Regions from separate parts of the Homo sapiens genome. Here all the other regions are linked to region 3. The links are contacts of gene promoters, found by promoter capture Hi-C in blood cells and fetal thymus (Javierre and others, 2016). All regions are on one chromosome and are shown on one strand. The core of a region is centred on a gene start or on the middle of the fragment in contact, and the rest is flanking DNA. Distances in the headings are between cores, read along the strand shown.

What was found. The method cuts DNA at HindIII sites, captures the fragments that hold promoters and counts their contacts. A CHiCAGO score of 5 or more calls a contact.
Region 1: a contact is called between a fragment that was not itself captured here and the fragment with the promoter of SPAG9 in region 3, in 3 of 17 cell types (naive CD8 T cells, neutrophils and M0 macrophages). The highest score is 6.6, in naive CD8 T cells.
Region 2: a fragment that was not itself captured here is called in contact with the fragment with the promoter of SPAG9 in region 3 in 1 of 17 cell types (erythroblasts); the score reaches 5.7 in erythroblasts.

The regions. Positions count from the first base shown.
Region 1 is chr17:50,899,541-50,902,240 of GRCh38, forward strand. No RefSeq gene overlaps it. Among named protein-coding and RNA genes, the nearest start is that of TOB1-AS1, 34 kb to the left of the region's middle. The HindIII fragment of the contact is 4,004 bases long and covers 1-2,700 here.
Region 2 is chr17:51,269,510-51,272,209 of GRCh38, forward strand. The region is part of intron 4 of UTP18 (UTP18 small subunit processome component); the gene reads left to right. Among named protein-coding and RNA genes, the nearest start is that of UTP18, 10 kb to the left of the region's middle. The HindIII fragment of the contact is 4,003 bases long and covers 1-2,700 here.
Region 3 is chr17:51,119,503-51,122,202 of GRCh38, forward strand. It overlaps SPAG9 (sperm associated antigen 9), which reads right to left and starts at 1,366. Exons shown (of 30, transcript NM_001130528.3): 1 at 852-1,366. The coding sequence starts at 1,154. RefSeq lists silencers at 619-748, 769-848, 1,099-1,478 and enhancers at 879-998, 1,288-2,102, 1,619-1,848, 2,458-2,700. The HindIII fragment of the contact is 3,961 bases long and covers 1-2,700 here.

The DNA of each region.
Region 1 (2,700 bases), core at 127-2,626, 220 kb before region 3:
TTGCCCAGGTTTAAGCACAGTGGTACAATCGCAGCTCACTGCAGCCTCAAATTCCCAGGCTCAAGCGATCTTCCCACCTCAGCCTCCTAAGTAGCTGGGACTACAGGTGTGCACCACCACACTCAGCTAGTTTTTAAATTTTTTTGTAGAGACAGAGTCTCCCTACGTTGCCCAGGCTGGTCTTGAATTCCTGGGCTCAAGCGATCCTCCCAGCTCCGCCTCCCAGAGTGCTGGGATCAGAGGCATGAGCCACCGTGCTCAACCAAGAACCAAGAGTTTAAAGCTGGGCAGATATGAGACAAGAACAAGCCAGAATATCCAGGGATGATTATCCTAAACCCCAGGGAACTCGCTGTTTTCTCTGATGGCTGGTATGCGCATGGTACTCGGGTTATAGGGGCTGGCAAAGAGGGTCAGAAGTAGCCCTCTAACCAGTGCACTGGTTTCTACATGCTGCAGAGAAGTGGCCCAGTCATCACATCCTTTTCCATCCTCCCAGATAACCCGCATCAGTTCATCTGGGTGTGCTGTGGATTGCAAGGCATGAAGATTGACTATCTGTAATTGTTTCTGCAGGAGGCAAGCTGCAGGAGACGGAGGGAGGTAGAGCGAGGGGCCAAGTACACAGAGAGCAGGGCCTGTGAGGAGAGGATTGTCCCCCACTCTCCCTCTCCAGTTTCCTCTCTTTAGAAAGAAAAAGGAATGGACAGGGTCAGCAGAATCTGGAGGCTGCGTTGAAGCTGCCCGTGCTTCTGAACGAAGCAGCCAGTGCCGCTCGACCATCTGGGACACCGGTGGAATTCAGGGCCCCTCTCAGGACATTCAGGGCATGTGGACAAGGTCAGCCACAGGGTGAGGGAGATGGGTAGAGAAAAAGATAACAGGAAATGAATAAGAAAGGGAGCTGCAAAGAGAAAAAAGAGAGCTGGAGAGGAGTAAAGAGGTGAAGGCCCTGTTTCCTGTCCTTGGATTCTTACAGCTCTGCTCACAGCAGCTTCATTTCACACAGTGGCACCGACAACTGATGTGACCGCTTGGGGAGGCAGTAGTGGCGGGAGAAGGCTGGGTTGGGGACCAACTGGGTATGGCATGAGTTTCTGAACCTGGAGAACCTGAAGCCTGATGATCCCTGATGGGAGATGACAACAGGTGGACTGAGCCACTGAGGGGAGGGAGGCGAGCTGGGAGGGGAGGGGGGGGTTCCACGGCAAGCATGTGAATGAGGACACTGGTGGCTGGAGTCCTGGGAGCACCGCAGTCTCCTTTTGGGGTTGATCGGAGCCCTTGGCAGCTTGGGCAGCAGCCATTCATTGCTGTCTTCATTTTATTAACTTTAATTTGTAACTGGGTTGATCAGCAACTGTTCTTCCTGGAGGGTGTAATTAGGGTTATAAATAAAGTCAAGTGGAGAGTTTGGACAACCAAGGGCTGTGCATTCTGTGCTATACTGAGCCCGGGGCCCCCCACGACACCCTCCCTGGAGGACGCCATTTTCCAGCAATAGGTTTGTTGCCTCATTGACTCAAAGGGAAGGCTGAAGTCGCACAGAACCTCATACTTCATGATTTGGAAGGAGTCAGCGTTGGCAACCTTGATCTTCTAGAAACCAGCCATTTGGGGTATTTCCTGGTGGAGCCTTTTTAATTTAGAGCCCACAGCATTCAATTGATCCCAGATGTCCCAGCTCTTCCTTGAACCATCCAGGTATAGTGCATGCTCCTCCCCACCTACCCCATCCAGGCTGGACCCAAGGTCTCTCAGATCTGACTGCTTCTCTCCACCCCTACTGCCCAGGCTTTAGTTCAAGGACAACTCAGTTTCCCTCTGGATTATTCCTTGGTCCTCCTGGTCTCCCATGGCCCTCTCACTGTCTCCAAAGTAACCATCCTAAAGTACAAATATCTCCTTGTTACAGCACTCCAGGACAACCCCAAACAGCCAGCCCCTCACATCTCTTGCCTTTGCACATGCAGTTTCCTTCTCTTTGAATTTGTGTCTCTCTCTTGCCCTTACACGTCCATCATTGCTTGGTCTGAAATTGGTCCTCTACTCTCTTAAATCCTGTGTGTCAGTGTCATTCTGGATTTGCAGATGCATTTTGGACAGGGATCGTATCTCTGAATTTTTTTTCTCTAAGGTCTATCCCAGATAAGGCCCATATATAGATGTTCTAGGTGATAAGGTTCTAAATGTTCTATGTGATAAAGCTGCTGCTGTATATGTGGCTAAGTGTTGAAACCAACACTCTCCAATAAAACTTTACGTGGCGATGGAAATGTCCCATATCTGCCATGTCCAATATGGTAGCCACTAACAACATGTGGCGATTGAGCATTTCAAATATGACTATTGCAGTGAAGGAACTAAATTCATGGTATTGAATTTTAACTTAAGTAATTTAAATTCAAATAGCCACATCTGGCTAGTGGCTACCATATTGGACAGCACAGGTTTGGCTTAAGCCAACTTGGAATAAGGGTTAGTTAACAAGACTTCCTGCCTGTATCAAATTCAGCACCTCACAGCTATTTTTCAATCTTTGAATAAAATAAATAGCAGTAACAACAATATTTAATCCAGGATTAAATATTGTTTTGATAGCTCAGACTGGGGCAATGTCACAGGCTTATCATCCCAGGCAAACTTTTGATAGTCCAGGGCAATTTCATCTGTTTAAAACATGCTGAGGCTGGCGGTATC
Region 2 (2,700 bases), core at 22-2,521, 150 kb after region 3:
AGTATATCCTCTCACATCATGTGGGAGCTCCTTCCTTAGCATCCTTCATGTCCGTAGAGCTTCAGTTTGATTATGACCACCTCCTTTGTCCCCTTTCTTCCTACCCTGTTAGTCCTCATGGTACGTAAATGCAGGGAGTCCATACAAAGAGCCAGTGTTTTATATAATTCTATTAGAAAAGACAATCTGTTACTAAGTAGAAATTGACCGTCTTTGTTTCTAGCCATTTGCTTTTAGAGGTTGAAGGAATCTTAGTGATGTGGCCTGACTTTATCCACTGCAGTAATCTTTTCTACATTATCCTCTGCTTAAATATATCAAATAATGTATTGTGTGTGTGTGTGTGTGTGTGTGTGTGTGTCAGTGTCAGAATCTCACTCTGTCACCCAGGGCTGGAGTGCAGTGGGGCAATCTCAGCTCACTACAACCTCTGCCTCCCGGGTTCCAGTGATTGTTTTGTCTCAGCCACCTGAGTAGCTGGGGTTACAGGTGTGCGCCATTACACCTGGCTAATTTTTGTATTTTTAGTAGAATCGGGGTTTCACCGTGTTGGCCAGGCTGGTCTTGAACTCTTGGCCTTCCAAAGTGTTGGGATTACAGGCATGAGCCACTGTGCCTGGCCTAAATAATGTACTTTTTACTAAACTGTTTTTTCCCCTTCTTCCCTTTTCTTTAAGAACTGTTAGACAGTTTTTCCTATTTTGAAATGTATGTCCCAACAAGTCTCTACTCCTACGGTTTGAAACATATAGATTATCTTCTTTTTCTCTCATTTGGGAAGCCTCTTTCCATGTTTGTTTTTTAATATGTTAAACATCCCTCGTTATTTTGACCATTTTTTTGGTGGCGTACTTCTAGACCCTAGATCACCAGTTTGCCCTCCTGGATGAAACATAATTTTATTATCCATTTCAGAATGCTGCATTTATAGAACCCCACAACATTTTAGATTCCTGTAATTTTGGGTATGGTTATGCTAGCTGTTGAAACAAAATCCCACAGATCCCAGTGGCATAATCCAATTGAAGTTGGTTTTTTCAGCACATAAAATTGGGGTGGTAGGAAGGTGATGGTTTACTTTAGGGACCCAAGTTTATAGAAGTTCTGTCATCTTCAGGTTGGTTCTTCCAGAGTTGCCTAAGATGTTGACATCCACTTGGCTTATAGGAGGAGAAAGAGGGGATTTTTATTGGCCTTTCCTGGAAATGGTACAGGATACTTTTGCCTACATTTTGTTGGCTGGAACTCAGTCATAAGGCCACACTAGCTGAGAGGATCCTAGGAAGTGTAGTTTGGCTTTGTGCACAGGAGAAAAAGGAAGTGGATTAAGTCAGCAATTAGTCTGCTACAGTATGGGATATGCTTGTCTAACACATTCATTTTGTACATGAGAGAGGTTCAAAGAGATAGTGACTTGTTGAAGGTATACTTATTGTTGACAGAATGGTGACTAGCACTCAGCTTCATGATTATCTCCAGTGTGTTATTTTTATCTGTAAATATTTACTGAGTTTCGTTATAAGAAAATTCTCCCTTTTGAACATAACCACAGCTCCAAAAATCAACAGCAATTCATTAATATTATGAATTGTTGTATTGTGTTGCTCTTTGTTTATCCCCTCTCCCTATCATTTTAGCTTGCTTTGTATTTTGCTTAGACTTCATAGTACTTTTGAACTGGCTTGATGTCTTCTGTAAGTTTTGGAAATTCTCACCTGTCTTCAAGTATTGTTTCTGTTCCAGTCTTCCTTTCTAGATTATTAGTAATACGTATATTAAATGTCTTCCACCTATTTTTTGGTTTGGTTTTTTTTTGAGACAGGGTCTCACTCTATCGCCCAGTCTGGAGTGCAGTGACGTGATCTTGGCTCACTGTAGTCTCGACCTCCTGGGTTCAAGCAATCCTCCCACCTCAGCCTCTGGAGTAGCTAGGACTACAGGCATGTGCCACCATGCCCAGCTAATGAAAAAAAAAATTTTTTTTTGTAGTGACAGGATCTTATTATGTTGCCCACATTGGTATTCAGTGTTTTTTATCCTTTTTCTTTCTGTACTTCAGTCTGGGTATATTTTTCTGATTCGTTTTCTAGACCACAAATTCTCTCTACAGCTAATTTTGATGTACTGTTAAAAACATCTATTGGAGGCTTAATTTAATTTTATTTGTTATTATTTTTTGAGTTAGTCTTGCTCTGTCGTGTAGGCTGGAGTGCAGTGGCACTACCTCCACTCACTGCGACCTCTGCCTCCTGAGTTCAAATGATTCTCCTGCCTCAGCCACCCAAGTAGCTGGGATTACAGGTGTGCACTACCATGCCTGGCTAATTTTTGTATTTTTAGTAGACACGGGGTTTCACCATTTTGGTCAGGCTGGTCTCGAACTCCTGACCTCAAGTGATCCACTTGCCTCGGCCTCCCAAAGTACTGGAATTACAGATATGAGCCACCATGCCTGGCCTATTGGGGGCTTACTTTTAATTACGTATTTTTCAGCTCTAGAATTTCTTTTTCAAATATTCTACATTTCTGGCTCAATTTTGAATCTTGTCTTTCATTCTTAAATATATTAAACATAGTTTTTTTTGTTGTTGTTGTTTGTGTTTTTTTGAGACAGAGTCTTATTCTGTTGCCCAGGCTGGAGTGCAGTGGCGCAATCTCAGCTCACTGCAACCTCTGCCTCCTGGGTTCAAGTGATTCTCT
Region 3 (2,700 bases), core at 116-2,615:
ACAGAGTCGAGGTGAGGGCGCCCAGGTCACTGCTCGGGTGCTAGAGTTAACAGGTGGCCAAATGCACGTATAAACAGCAGTCTAAGAAGGAAACTCAGACGGAAAAAGTGTTGCCAACTGTCACCTACATCTTCCCAACCCCGCCCCCCAATCCTTTTTATAAATAAACGGAGGGTTTTTGAAGGGAACTGTCCAAGGTTACAACCTGATACGGAGGAATGCTTTGGTTTGGGATACCAACGAAATTGTTTATATATTTATTGAGTACTGCCACACAACATCTAAAAGTTGACAAAGTGTCAACCAAGGCACATAGAACATAAAATAAGACGTCTTTCTCAACAAGATTAAAACGTCAAGAAGAAACTGACCGAAAGAGGGAGATCTCTAACTTCCCAAAGCAAGGCAACCCCCTGGAAAGGTACTGGAACTAGCGGAAGTTACATATCCAGGGCAGAAGTGTCCCCCTCCCCAAGGGTAAAACTTTGAACCGCCATCTGACTATCCCACGGTGGTCGGAAACTTCCCTCAACAAGAAGCAACCAGACACCCAACAATCTCCGCCCTTGGCCAACCCCAGGTGTCCTCAGGCCAGGCTGCCGCTTCCTCCCCGGGCCCTGCCTCCTCCATCTCGCTCCCTTCCCAGGACACTCAGTAGCCGGCCTCGGCTTCCAACGCCGGCCTGGCTCCCGGGGTACCTGGAGGCCGCCGGGATCGGTCCCAGGGGGCATCGGCCTCAGGCCCGCCCTCCAGGAGGCCCGTCGCGCCTCTAGTCCCCGACCGGGCCGCGACCCCGCCCCGGCCGCCCCCGGAGACGGATCCCGCGGCCCCCGCCCTGCCGCCGGCCTCACCTCCTCAGCGTGCTTGCGCAGCGCCTTCTCCCGCTCGTACTGGGTGATGAGCTGCTCGTTGTCGTCCCGCAGCAGCTCCAGCTCCACCTGGTGCTCCTGGTCCTGCGCGAACACCGAGTCCAGGTTCTCCAGCACAGCCACCACCAGCGGCATCAGCTCTTTGACCACCTCCTCGTCATAGCGCCCGATAAGCCGCTCGAACTCGCGGTAGATGGAGCCGGCCAGGCCGGACACCCGCTCCGACATCACGGCCCCGGAGCCGCCGGGCTCCTCCTGATACACCACACCGTCCTCCAGCTCCATGGTGGCAAGCGGACGGGCGGGCGGCCCGGGGCGTCGCCGGCAGAGGGGCGGCACCTGCCCGCACGGGACGGACCCGACTCGGGCTGGGACGGGTACTAGGGCTGGAGCCCGGGCCGGGGCTGGGGCTGGGCCCGGCGGGGTGGGGGCCGGGGCCGGAGGAGGGGAGGGGTGGCGTAGGCGCTCTCACCCCAACCGCCGCTGCACCAACTGCCGGGGCGGCCCGGCCGCGCGCGCCACACGTCATCCGCGGGGCGGGGCCGGCGCCGCGTCGGCCCGATGGGCGGGGCGCCGCGGGAGGCCAGGCGCGGCCGGGGGCGGGGCCAAGCGTCTTCGGGCGCTGGCGGAGGAAGCCATGGCGTCAACACCCGGCGCCGCGAAGACGGTGCGGGCGCCAATGGGAAAGACTGCGGTCGGCGGGTGGGGAGAAGTATCCATCCACAGCGGGATTCGCGGGGCGGGTCCCAGGGGAAAGGGAGGGGTTCGGGAAGAGTGACGAGTTAACTTAGCTGGCATTTCTATGGCTTTTTAAAGCTCACAAAGCACCTACTCACTTCATCCCCACAACAGGCGTAAAGAGGTAGATATTTGGACCTCGTTTCACAGACAAAGAAACTAGGCCCAGGAAAGTGGCGTTGCTCTCAAGGTCACGCAGCTACAACGGGAAACGGGCTGAGCCGGGACTCAAACCAATTACCCAGATTGAGAATTCCGGGCTCCGAAAAAAACTGGAAACAGAAAGGGAGGGAAAAAAAACCATAACCAGGGTCTGCCCAAGTGGAAAGGTGGTCTCGAATAGAATAGAACTGTTTTGTGCTATGGAAGAGCAAGGGTGAGATGAGGGGAAATGGGAGTGACTGCTAATAGGTATGGGATTTCGTTTTGGGATAATAAAAATGTTCTAAAAAATGTATTATAGTGATGAATACACAACTCTAAATATGCTAAAAGACATTCAACTTTACACGTTAAGTGAGTGAATCATATGGCGTGTGAATTATATCTCAAGTTATTAAAAAATAAACAGGAAGGGTGATAGCATTCTGGAGAAGGGTGAAACTGGAACGTTACATGTGGCACTTTCCCACATAGTGTGTCTGCTACTTCTGGCCAACTTGGGACGGGGACATTTCCAGGCTCCAGCCACCCTCCTCTCCTCAAGTCTTGAAGTGGGGCGGAAAGGGTAAGTGGGAGGTTGGGGAACAGAGGAGGTAAGGGGTGGAGTCACTGGAGTGAATAAGTCCCATGACAAGTGAGGTTTCTGCCGCCTGGGAGAGTGTCACGTGTGGGGAATGACACAACGCCCACGCCTAGAGCGGGCTGAGTCAAGGATCCCGGTGTGCTCATCTAACGTCCGCAAATGGGACGGAAGACACTCTCAAAAGTCCCTTCTCTGTGTCTCAGGTGACTCAGCTCTCCGTCCCGACTCGTTTAAGAAAAGGGGGAGGAAAGGCAGGATAAACATAGGTTTAAGGGGAGAATTGGCCACCCACCGGGATCATAACTACCCTTAGCTTGGGGTTTACAAGTTTAAGTACTTCCCACCAAG